Linked DNA regions of Homo sapiens: regions 1 and 3 are each linked to region 2. Evidence: promoter capture Hi-C in 16 types of primary human blood cells and fetal thymus (Javierre and others, 2016). All regions are on one chromosome and are shown on one strand. The core of a region is centred on a gene start or on the middle of the fragment in contact, and the rest is flanking DNA. Distances in the headings are between cores, read along the strand shown.

The links. Contacts are between HindIII fragments. The CHiCAGO score rates a contact against its expected background, and 5 or more counts as called.
Region 1: a contact is called between the fragment with the promoter of TSC22D4 here and the fragment with the promoter of AZGP1 in region 2, in 5 of 17 cell types (total B cells, neutrophils, non-activated CD4 T cells and 2 more). The highest score is 14.6, in total B cells.
Region 3: a contact is called between the fragment with the promoter of ZNF394 here and the fragment with the promoter of AZGP1 in region 2, in 3 of 17 cell types (erythroblasts, fetal thymus and M1 macrophages). The highest score is 6.4, in erythroblasts.

Annotation. Positions count from the first base shown.
Region 1 is chr7:100,477,959-100,481,436 of GRCh38, reverse strand. TSC22D4 (TSC22 domain family member 4) reads left to right here and starts at 2,223. Exons shown (of 5, transcript NM_030935.5): 1 at 2,223-2,643; 2 at 3,130-3,478. The coding sequence starts at 3,399. It overlaps TSC22D4-C7ORF61 (TSC22D4-C7orf61 readthrough), which reads left to right and starts at 2,223. Exons shown (of 6, transcript NM_001395846.1): 1 at 2,223-2,643; 2 at 3,130-3,478. The coding sequence starts at 3,399. RefSeq lists enhancers at 1,708-1,817, 2,518-2,587 and a silencer at 1,908-2,067. The HindIII fragment of the contact is 34,188 bases long and covers 1-3,478 here.
Region 2 is chr7:99,974,383-99,977,673 of GRCh38, reverse strand. AZGP1 (alpha-2-glycoprotein 1, zinc-binding) reads left to right here and starts at 1,643. Exons shown (of 4, transcript NM_001185.4): 1 at 1,643-1,729. The coding sequence starts at 1,654. The HindIII fragment of the contact is 13,516 bases long and covers 1-2,995 here.
Region 3 is chr7:99,498,608-99,501,767 of GRCh38, reverse strand. ZNF394 (zinc finger protein 394) reads left to right here and starts at 1,487. Exons shown (of 3, transcript NM_032164.4): 1 at 1,487-2,130; 2 at 2,926-3,052. The coding sequence starts at 1,675. RefSeq lists enhancers at 1,877-2,156, 2,379-3,047. The HindIII fragment of the contact is 23,896 bases long and covers 1-3,160 here.

The sequences.
Region 1 (3,478 bases), core at 974-3,473, 500 kb before region 2:
TTTTATTTTTACGTACCCCTAAAGAGGGGTTAGAGGCCGGGCGTGGTGGCTTATGCCTGTAATCCCAGCACTTTGGGAGGCCGAGGCGGGCGGATCACGAGGTCAGGAGATCAAGACCATCCTGGCTAACACGGGGAAACCCCGTCTCTAGTAAAAATACAAAAAATTAGCCGGGCATGGTGGCGGGTGCCTGTAGTCCCAGCTACAGGCTGAGGCAGGAGAATGGCGTGAACCCGGGAGGTGGAGCTTGCAGTGAGCCGAGATAGAGCCACTGCACTCCAGCCTGGGCGACAGAGCGAGACTCCGTCTCAAAAAAAGAGGGGTTAGAAATTTCCCTGAGGCCAGGCACCATGGCTCACGCCTGTAATGTCAGCTCTTTGGGAGGCCCAGGTGGAAGTATCATTTGAGGCCAGGAATTCGAGACCAGCCTGGGCAACATAGTAATAACCTGTCTCTACAAAAACTAAAAAATTAGCCAGGTATGGTGGTATACACCTGTGGTCCCAGCTACTAGGGAGGCAGAAGCAGGAGGATCACTTGAGGCCGGGAGTTCAAGACCACCCTGGGCAACATTGCAAGATCCCCATCTCTACCAAAAAAAAAAATTTTTTTTTAAAGAAATTTAGCCAGGCGTAGTAGTGTGTGTCTGTGGTCCCAGCTACTTGGGAGGCTGAGGCAGGAGCATGGCTTGAGCCCAGGAGTTCCAGGCTGTGGTGAGCTATGATCGCACCACTGCACTCCATCCTGGGCAACAGAGAGAGAGAGAGACCCTGTCTCTAAAAAAAAAGGCGGGGGCAGGTTGGGGGAAAGGGGAATAGTATAACATCTAGGATCTGATTTCAAATAGTCCAGCAAACTACAGCTGGCCCCCACACAATGTCATTTCATTGAATGTCATTTCATTATAACATTGATGATTTTCTAAAAATTGATTTTGGGCTGGGACCACCATCTGTGTGGAGTTTGCATGGTCTCCCCATGTCTGCATGGCATGTTTGAAAATTTTCATAATAATCCACTTTTTTTTTTTTTTTGAGACATGGTCTCACTCTGTTGCCCAGGCTGGAGTGCAGTGGCACAATCTTGGCTCACTGCATCCTCAACCTCCTGGGCTCAAGAGATCCTCCTGCCTCACAGCCTCCTGAGTAGCTGGGACTACAGGTATACATCACCACACTCAGTTTTTTTTTTTTTTTAAGATGGAGTCTCACTCTGTCACCAGGCTGGAGTGCAGTGGCGTGATCTCGACTCACTGCAACCTCCGCCTCCCAGGTTGAAGTGATTCTCCTGCCTCAGCCTCCCGAGTAGCTGGGACTACAGGTGCCCGCCACCACACCTGGCTAATTTTTGTATTTTAAGTAGAGACTTGGTTTCACCATGTTGGCCAGGATGGTCTTAATCTCTTGACCTCGTGATCCGCCCGCCTCGGCCTCCCAAAGTGCTAATTTTTTAAATTTTTTGTAGAGATGGGGATCTCGTTATATTGCCCAGGCTGGTCACGAACTCCTGGGCTCAAGCGATCCTCCCACCTTTGAGTAGCTGGAATTATAGGTGCACATCACCATGCCCAGCTATTTTTTTTTATTTTTTGTAGAGATGGGGTCTTGCTATTATATTGTCCAAACTGGTCTCAAGCGATCCTCCTTCCTCGACCTCCCAAAGTGCGGAGATTACAGGCATGAGCCACCACCGGGATCCGGCAATAATCCACTTTTAAAAATAAGGAATGGGGGGAATAATGCAGTTGCTGTGAAAACCAAAGGAGAATGACAGTAACAGCCACAGCTGCCCCACAGCAGGGACTGGGAACTTCTGGGTGGGCATGCAGCACACCTCCCGGCCTGTGCCTTCCGTCTCTTCTGTGTGTCTCTAGGCCAATGGCAGCAATTGACTACAAGTAAGGGAATCCCTCGCCTCCCTGCAAGCTCCTCCCCTTTCTCCCCGAGCCCCGCCCCCTGCAGCCCCTCCCTGCAAGAGTGGGGCTAGGGCCCGGCAGGTGTGGGGTTAAGGGAGTCTGTTTGGGGCCCCCAGGAGCAGCAGCCTAAGCAGTGGCTGCAGCAACTGCAACAGCAGCGGCTGTGGCAGGCCTGGCCCCGGGCCAGCTGGCGGGAAGCCCCAGGAGGGAGGGAGGGAGGAGGAAGGGGAGGAAGAGGGGAAGGAGGAGGAGGAGGAGGAGAGGAGCAGTCAGCAGGCCCGAGGAGGCAGGACTTCCTGGTGTGGGGGTTGTCAACAGCCCAGAAAGAGAAAGACGGAGAGGCAGAGACCCAGGGGAGCCGAGGAGCGGAGACACGGACCCAGCAGGGTCACGCGGGAGGAGACTCGGGACACCCACTCGCTGGCTGCCACCGGGAGCAGAGGGGGGCTCGGCCGCCCCCTCCCACATCAGTCTCCAGACCCTTGGGGCTTCAGAGGCCGCTCCTAGGCTCCTCGGAGGAGGCGCGGGTTTCTTCTTTTCCGGAGAGCAAACTTTCCTCGGAGATGCCTGGCAGGATGAGCCGCGGCCCCCGGAGAGGACGGGACAGCCTCTGATCGCCGCCTGCGTGCCCCGCCACTGCCCATGGCCAGGAGGCCCCAGGGAACGGACAGCCCGACCTCTTAGGCGCCGGGACCCTCAGGCTCAGATCAGTGGCCGAGGCCCCAGAGGTAGGGTTCAGGGCTGGGTGGGGCGCTGGGGGGTAGCCGGGCAGGGCCTGCCCCAGAGATGTGGGAGCTGGGGTGAGGGTGGGGGCTCGAGGCCCAGGAGAGGTCTCTCTGAGTGGCCGGGCCAGGCTGGGGAGCTGCTTCAGCCTGGTTCTCCCAGGCCCTGGAGTCCGAGCTCTTGGGACAATACGGGCCCCCTGAGTCAGAATCCCAGGCGAGAAATGCCCAACTCTGGGACTCATCTGCCTCTTTCTACTCTGAGTGCCTTCTTGGATCCAGTCCCCTCTGCCCTGGTCTCTGTCATCTCTTGCCTGTCTCTGGGTCTCTGACGGTTTCCCCTTCCCCCACTCTGCTCCCCGGAGAGGAAGCCCCGGAGGTGGCCTGCCCACTGGTTTCACACACACACACACACACACACACACACACACACACACACACACACACACTCTCTCTCTCTCTCTCTCTCTCTCTCTCCCCCTCTTTTTCCAGTTTGCAAACTCAGCTCTGGAGTTCAGCAGCAACAGCAGCAGGAAAAACCTGCCCCTGCTCCCCCCTCCCGCCACCTCCCCTCTCCTCTTCTCCCCTCACCCAGCAGGCACCCCCGGTTCCCGCCAGGCCCTCCTGCCATGTCGGACCCAGACGTCCCCAGGGGCTCGGATGTCCCCGCCATGTGGCCCCCTTGTTCCAGGGGTGCCTGAGCCCCTTCAAGGAGCCCCAACCCACCCCCAACCTTGGCCCAGCCCTGAGCCCCAGGGACCATGAGCGGGGGCAAGAAGAAGAGTAGTTTCCAAATCACCAGCGTCACCACGGACTATGAGGGCCCTGGGAGCCCAGGGGC
Region 2 (3,291 bases), core at 394-2,893:
TTCTATAGTTTGTGTATTGGGAATGATAATTATATTTCCAACCAACAGCATGTAAGGGGGTTTGACATAGCTCCTGATGGGTATCACCCGTTCAGATATGAGGGTGATGTTGAATGTGGGTGTTTTGGTATTAGTGTGAAGGAGTTGATAGGTAGTGTTCCATATCCTTATTCCTGTCATAGCTGCAGCTAATTTTCATAGTTGAGGATGTTCTGGGGTAACAAAGGGATGAATCATTTTTGGTCTAGGAGGAGTAATGCCTGCATCCATCCATTTAAATAGGTAAGGGGACACCCATTGTCTCAGCCTGTATGACTGCCATCCATCCTCTACATAATCTAACAAATAATTAAACTCTGAGCATGAGGTATTTTTGCTGGAGCAATCTTGCCAATAATGCCCTTTTGGAGCCCAATCAATAACAATACCTGCGGCTAGACTTTGGAGCACAACGGCCTTAGGAGCATTACAATTATTCCATAAAATTGAAGTCACTATAAAAGGTCCCTTTGTAGGTTTCTTTAACCAAAAGAGAGGCTGGGCACAGTTGCTCACACTAGTAAACCCAGCACTTTGGGAGACCGAGGCGGGCAGATCACGAGGTCAGGAGTTCAAAACCAGCTTGGCCAACATGGTGAAACCCCTGCCTCAGCTTCCTGAGTGCTGGGATTATAGGCATGTGCCACCACGCGCAGCTAATTCTTGTATTTTTTCAGTAGAGACGAGGTTTCATCATGTTGCCCAGGCTGGTCTCGAGTACCTGACCTCAACCTGAGGTGATCCAACCACCTCAGCCTCCCAAAGTGCTGGGATTACAAGCATGAGTCACCGCACCCGGGCCCCAGTCACTTTAGAATAGCATGTTGCTTTGTATTCGGAGGGTCTCTCTGCAAATAGCCCATCAACACTGAGCGTGCCTGGAAAGACCTGGTTTTCAAATAACTGGCTTCGTCTGTGTAAAACGAGTCTTGTTGTATGCATTAAAAATTATCTTGGCTGGGCGTGGTGGCTCACGCCTTTAATCCCAGCATTTTGGGAGGCTCGTTCTGTTGCCAGGGAGGCTGCAAAAGGAGGATGCGGCTATTTCTGCTTCCATCATGGAAGGCTGGGATTCCACAGGCACAGAAAGGAAGGAGGGAGAGATGGGAATGTGACTGTCCTCCAGACACAGCCTCTGGCAGGATCGGATGTGGGAGAGTGAGGGTCCCACCCCAGCTGGGGTCTACCCAGGTCCATGTCTTGGACATGTTGAGAGTTTTTCTGGAAGGCAGGGATACAGTGTGGTCCAAAAACACACAAATGCCCCTACTGGCCCAGGGGTTGTCACAATAGACTGGAAGGGTGACACATCCCAGGCGCTTGCCACCCATCACACGCACCTCCTACCCACTGGCATCCTTCCACCCCAGGCACACACAAAGCCTCAGTCCAGAGATCAACTCTGGACTCAGCTCTGAATTTGCATATCCTGTGTGTAGATTCATTCTTCATAACCTCTGCCCAGCCTAGCTTGTGTATCATTTTTTTTTCTCTATTAGGGGAGGAGCCCGTCCTGGCACTCCCATTGGCCTGTAGATTCACCTCCCCTGGGCAGGGCCCCAGGACCCAGGATAATATCTGTGCCTCCTGCCCAGAACCCTCCAAGCAGACACAATGGTAAGAATGGTGCCTGTCCTGCTGTCTCTGCTGCTGCTTCTGGGTCCTGCTGTCCCCCAGGAGAACCAAGATGGTGAGTGGGGAAAGCAAGGGATGGGTGCTGGAGAGGACTGGAAGGAGGTGAGGAACAGGACATGTGGCTGGGAGACAGGCTGGATGCAGCTGGGATACCCTGGCATACGGCAGGAATGGGTGCCCAAGGCTGTCAACTCCCTCAGCTCACACACTTCCAGGAGCATTCAGGGAGCCTCTGCGCTGGCCCGAAATAAGACCTTCAGGAATCTGAATCTAAAACCCCTAGTTTACAGTGAAAACAAAGACTCCAAAGACCAAGCGACCTGCTTGGGGTAGACAGTCAGGACGGAGTAGGAACCATATGCCTGGAGCTGCTTCTGCTCCTGTTCCTTCCCTCCTTCCGATGGCTGGGTACACCTGCCTGACGCTGAGGGAAAGAGAGAGCAGCCCCAAGGGGAAAGTGGGAAGGCAGGTTGGCTGGAGGGATGGTGCTAGAAGGAAACCCGTGCCCAAATCCCACACTCAGACACCACTGCAGTGGGTCTGGAAGGCGAGTGGCTGGAAGAGAAGAGAGTGGGAGCTCCGGGAGATCAAGAGTCACTCCTAGGATAAGGGAAGGAGGCTGTTTGTGGCATGAGAATGTGCAGGATAAAGACATGGAAGCGAATGGCTTCTCAGTTGTGTGAGTTTAAAATTCATGACATTTACAAATTGTCAGAAAAGGTGTTATATGTTTGTTATATAACAATCACTTTGGAATGTTAATCTGATTCTGTGCCAAAATCTGAATTACTCAGGGTTCTCCAGAGAAACAGAACTAATAGGTGGTACACATATACATATATATGTACGTACACATACATACATACACTGTATACACATGGATACACACACACATAGGAAGAGATTTACATATATGTATACAAAAGAGAGAGAGAGTAGAGATTTATTTTAAGAAATTGACTCACACTATTGGGAGGAGTAACAAGTCCTAAATCTTCAGAGCCGGCCAGCAGGCTGGAGACCCAGGGAAGAGTTGATGTCTTAGTCTTGATTCCAAGGGCAGACTGTAGGCAGAATTCTTTCCTCTTTAGGGGACATCTGAGGCTTTTTCTCTTAAGGCCTTCAACTGATTGGATGAAGCCCACCACTATGGAGAGTAATCCACTTTACTCAAGGTCTACTGATTTTTTTGTAAATTAAAAAAAAAACTGTGGGTGCATAGTATGTGTATATATTTATGGGGTACATGAGAGGTTTTGATTCAGGCATGCAATGTGAAATAATCACATCATCAAAAATGAGGTATCCATCCCTTCAAGCTTTTATCGTTTGTGTTACAGACAATCCAATTATACTTTTTTGGTTATTTTAGTTTTTAAAAGTATTTGATTATTTATTTATTTATTTATTTTTGAGACAGAGTCTCACTCTGTCACCCAGGCAGGAGTGCAGTGGCATGATCTCGGCTCACTGCAACCTCCGCCTCCCAGGTTCAAGCAATTTTCCTGCCTCAGTCTCCTGAGTAGCTAGGACTACAGGCACCTGCCACCACACCTGGCTAATTTTTTTGTATTTTTAGTAGAGACGGGTTTCATCATGTTGGCCAGGCTAGTCTTG
Region 3 (3,160 bases), core at 238-2,737, 480 kb after region 2:
TGCTCTGTCACCCAGGCTGGAGTGCACTGGTGCGATCATATCTCACTGCAGTCTTTACCTCCTGGGCTCAAAGGATCCTCCCACCTCAGCCTCCCAAGTAAGTGGTGTATCCTGAGTTGGTTCCTTCCAGTGGGTTCATCCTCTCGCTGACTTCAAGAATGCAGCCTCCGACCTTCACTGTGTTACAGCTCTTAAAGATGGCACGGACCCAAAGAGTGAGTAGCAGCAAGATTTATTGTGAAGAGCGAAAGAACAAACCTTCCACAGCATGGCAGAGCACTCCAGCCGGTTGCCTCCGCTGACTGGGGTGGGAGCTTTTAGTCTCTTATTTGTCCCCTCCCATGTCCGTTTCTGTCGTATCAGAACGCCCTTTTTTCCATCCTCCCTGCGATTGGCTGCTTTTAGAATCCTGCTGATTGGTCCATTTTACAGAGCGCTGATTGGTGCATTTTACAAACCTCTTGCTAGCTACAGAGCGCTGATTGGTGCATTTTTACAAACCTCTTGTAAGACAGAAAAGTTGTCCAAGTCCCCACTGGACCCAGGAAGTCCAACTAGCTTCACCTCTCACTGGGACTACAGGTGTGCACCACCACACCCAGCTAATTTTTTATTTTTTGTAGACATTGGGGTCTCCAATTCTTGGCTTCAAGCGATCTTCCCCCCTCAGCCTCCCAAAATGCTGGGATTACAGGCATACGCCACTGAGCCAGGCCAGGACACATCTTTGAGCCTCAATTTCCTCATCTTTTTTGTTTGTTTGTTAGGATCAAAGTCGTTAACATCTGATGTACATGGAAGCACTTAGTTTTAAAAAAAAAACAAAACTTTTTCCAACTGGGCGCAGCGGCTCACGCCTGTAATCCAGCACTTTGGGAGGCCGGGGCAGGCGGATCACGAGGTCAGGAGTTCCAGACCAGCCTGACCAACATGGTGAAACCCCATCTCTACTAAAATACAGAAAGTAGCCGGGCATGGTGGCGCGCGCCTGTAGTCCAAGCTACTCAGGAGGCTAAGACAGCCTGGCGACAGAGCGAGAGTCCGCCTGAAAAAAGAAAAAAAAACAACTTTGTCCAACCTGGGCAATATAATGAAACCCCATCCCCACAGAAAAATTAATAAACCGGGCGTGGTCGCGCGCACCTGTAGTCCTAGATACTTGGGAGGCTGAAGCTGGAGAATTGCTTGAACCCGGGAGACAGAAGTTGCAGTGAGCCGAAATCGCGCCACTGCAGTCCAGCCTGGGCGACAGAGCCAGACCCTGTCTATTTAATCCTGAAGGTTCCCGCCCTTGCCGGAGCTCGGCCACCGGCTCGGACGCCCGTATTTCCTCGGGATGCGGGAAACCGTCAAGACCCTCTGCGTCGGGCGGGGCTAGGACGATAAACCAGCGAGATGCACCTCACCCCATCAGGCGCCTAGAGAGGCCCCGGAAATGCAGGGAAAGGTGCCGCAAGGCCTCGATGACGCGCTTCCGGCACGGGATGTTTTCGGTTGTTTGACCGAGAGAGTTGTAGGCGCAAAGCTGAGGAAAGGAGAGTGTGGAGAGGGGCCTGGTGTGGTGGGGCCCGGTGTTTGGGACCGGAGGGTGTTGACGGCTGATGAGTTCCTTGGGTTTGCTCTTTCTTCACCTGAAAAGAAGACTCCAGGAAGGGCAGCACATGCCGGAGAAAGATGAATTCCAGCTTGACCGCCCAGAGGCGCGGCAGTGACGCCGAGTTGGGACCCTGGGTGATGGCTGCGAGGTCCAAGGACGCGGCGCCGTCCCAACGCGACGGACTTTTGCCCGTGAAAGTGGAGGAAGACTCACCCGGAAGTTGGGAGCCCAACTATCCCGCGGCTTCGCCGGACCCCGAAACTTCTCGACTGCACTTTAGGCAGCTGCGTTACCAGGAGGTGGCTGGACCGGAAGAGGCGCTGAGCCGGCTCCGAGAACTCTGTCGTCGGTGGCTGAGACCCGAGCTGCTCTCCAAGGAGCAGATCCTGGAGCTGCTGGTGCTGGAGCAGTTCCTCACCATCCTGCCCGAGGAGCTTCAAGCCTGGGTGCGAGAGCACTGCCCAGAGAGCGGGGAGGAGGCGGTGGCCGTGGTGCGGGCTCTGCAGCGAGCGCTCGATGGAACCTCATCCCAGGTGAGAAGCGAAAGGCCTGTTCTGGAGGTGGGAGTGTGGAAAATAGGCGTTTAGGGGTGCTCTGCGTTTCGGAACTTACTTCCTTATTACATTTCGTGTGAACATTGGGGTGTGTATGGACTTCCTTTCTGTAGGCCACAGTGACAGATCCATCCAGGAAATGACTTGTTATAGACCTCAGCATAAAGCGAACACGGATTACTGGTTTTCTTTCTTTTTCTTTTCTTTTTTTTTTTTTTCTTGTTGTTCTTGCTGTTGTTTGAGATGGAGTTTCACTCTTGTTGCCCAGGCTGGAGTGCAATGGCGCGATCTCGGCTCGCTGCAACCTCTGACTCCCGGGTTCAAGCGATTCTCCTGCCTCAGTCTCCCGAGTAGCTGGGATTACAGGCGCCCGCCACCACGCCCGGCTAATTTTTGTATTTTTAGTAGAGACGGGGTTTCACTGTGTTGGCCAGGCTGGTCTCGAACTCCTGACCTCAGGTGATCCGCCCGCCTCGGCCTCCCAAAATGCTGGGATTACAGGCGTGAGCCACCGCGCCCGGCCTTGTTTACTTTTAATCTGTATCATATTTCCATTCCCATACATCACAGTGATATAAGTTAAAGAAATATTTTGCTCCTACCTACCTCCAAAATTAGTGTAAATAGTCCACAGAAAGGCTTTTCAGGATTACAAGAGAATGTCAGCCTCTATCTCTGATCTCTCCAAACTCCCTTGTCGGTACAAGACTCAAGAAGAGTGTTAGTGCTGTACAGGGACAGCAGGTACTGAATGGGGCTCTTGTGTTGTTCCAGGGGATGGTGACTTTCGAGGACACGGCTGTGTCTCTAACCTGGGAGGAGTGGGAGCGCCTGGACCCAGCACGGAGGGACTTCTGCAGAGAGAGTGCGCAGAAGGATTCCGGGAGCACAGTTCCGCCGAGTGAGTGCTGTTGCTCTGCTGGTTTATTGCGGTGTGTGGTTTGTGAAGGGCTGGTTCACTACCATCCCTGAGCCACTATGCCATTCCCAGACTTGGGCTGAGAGCCTT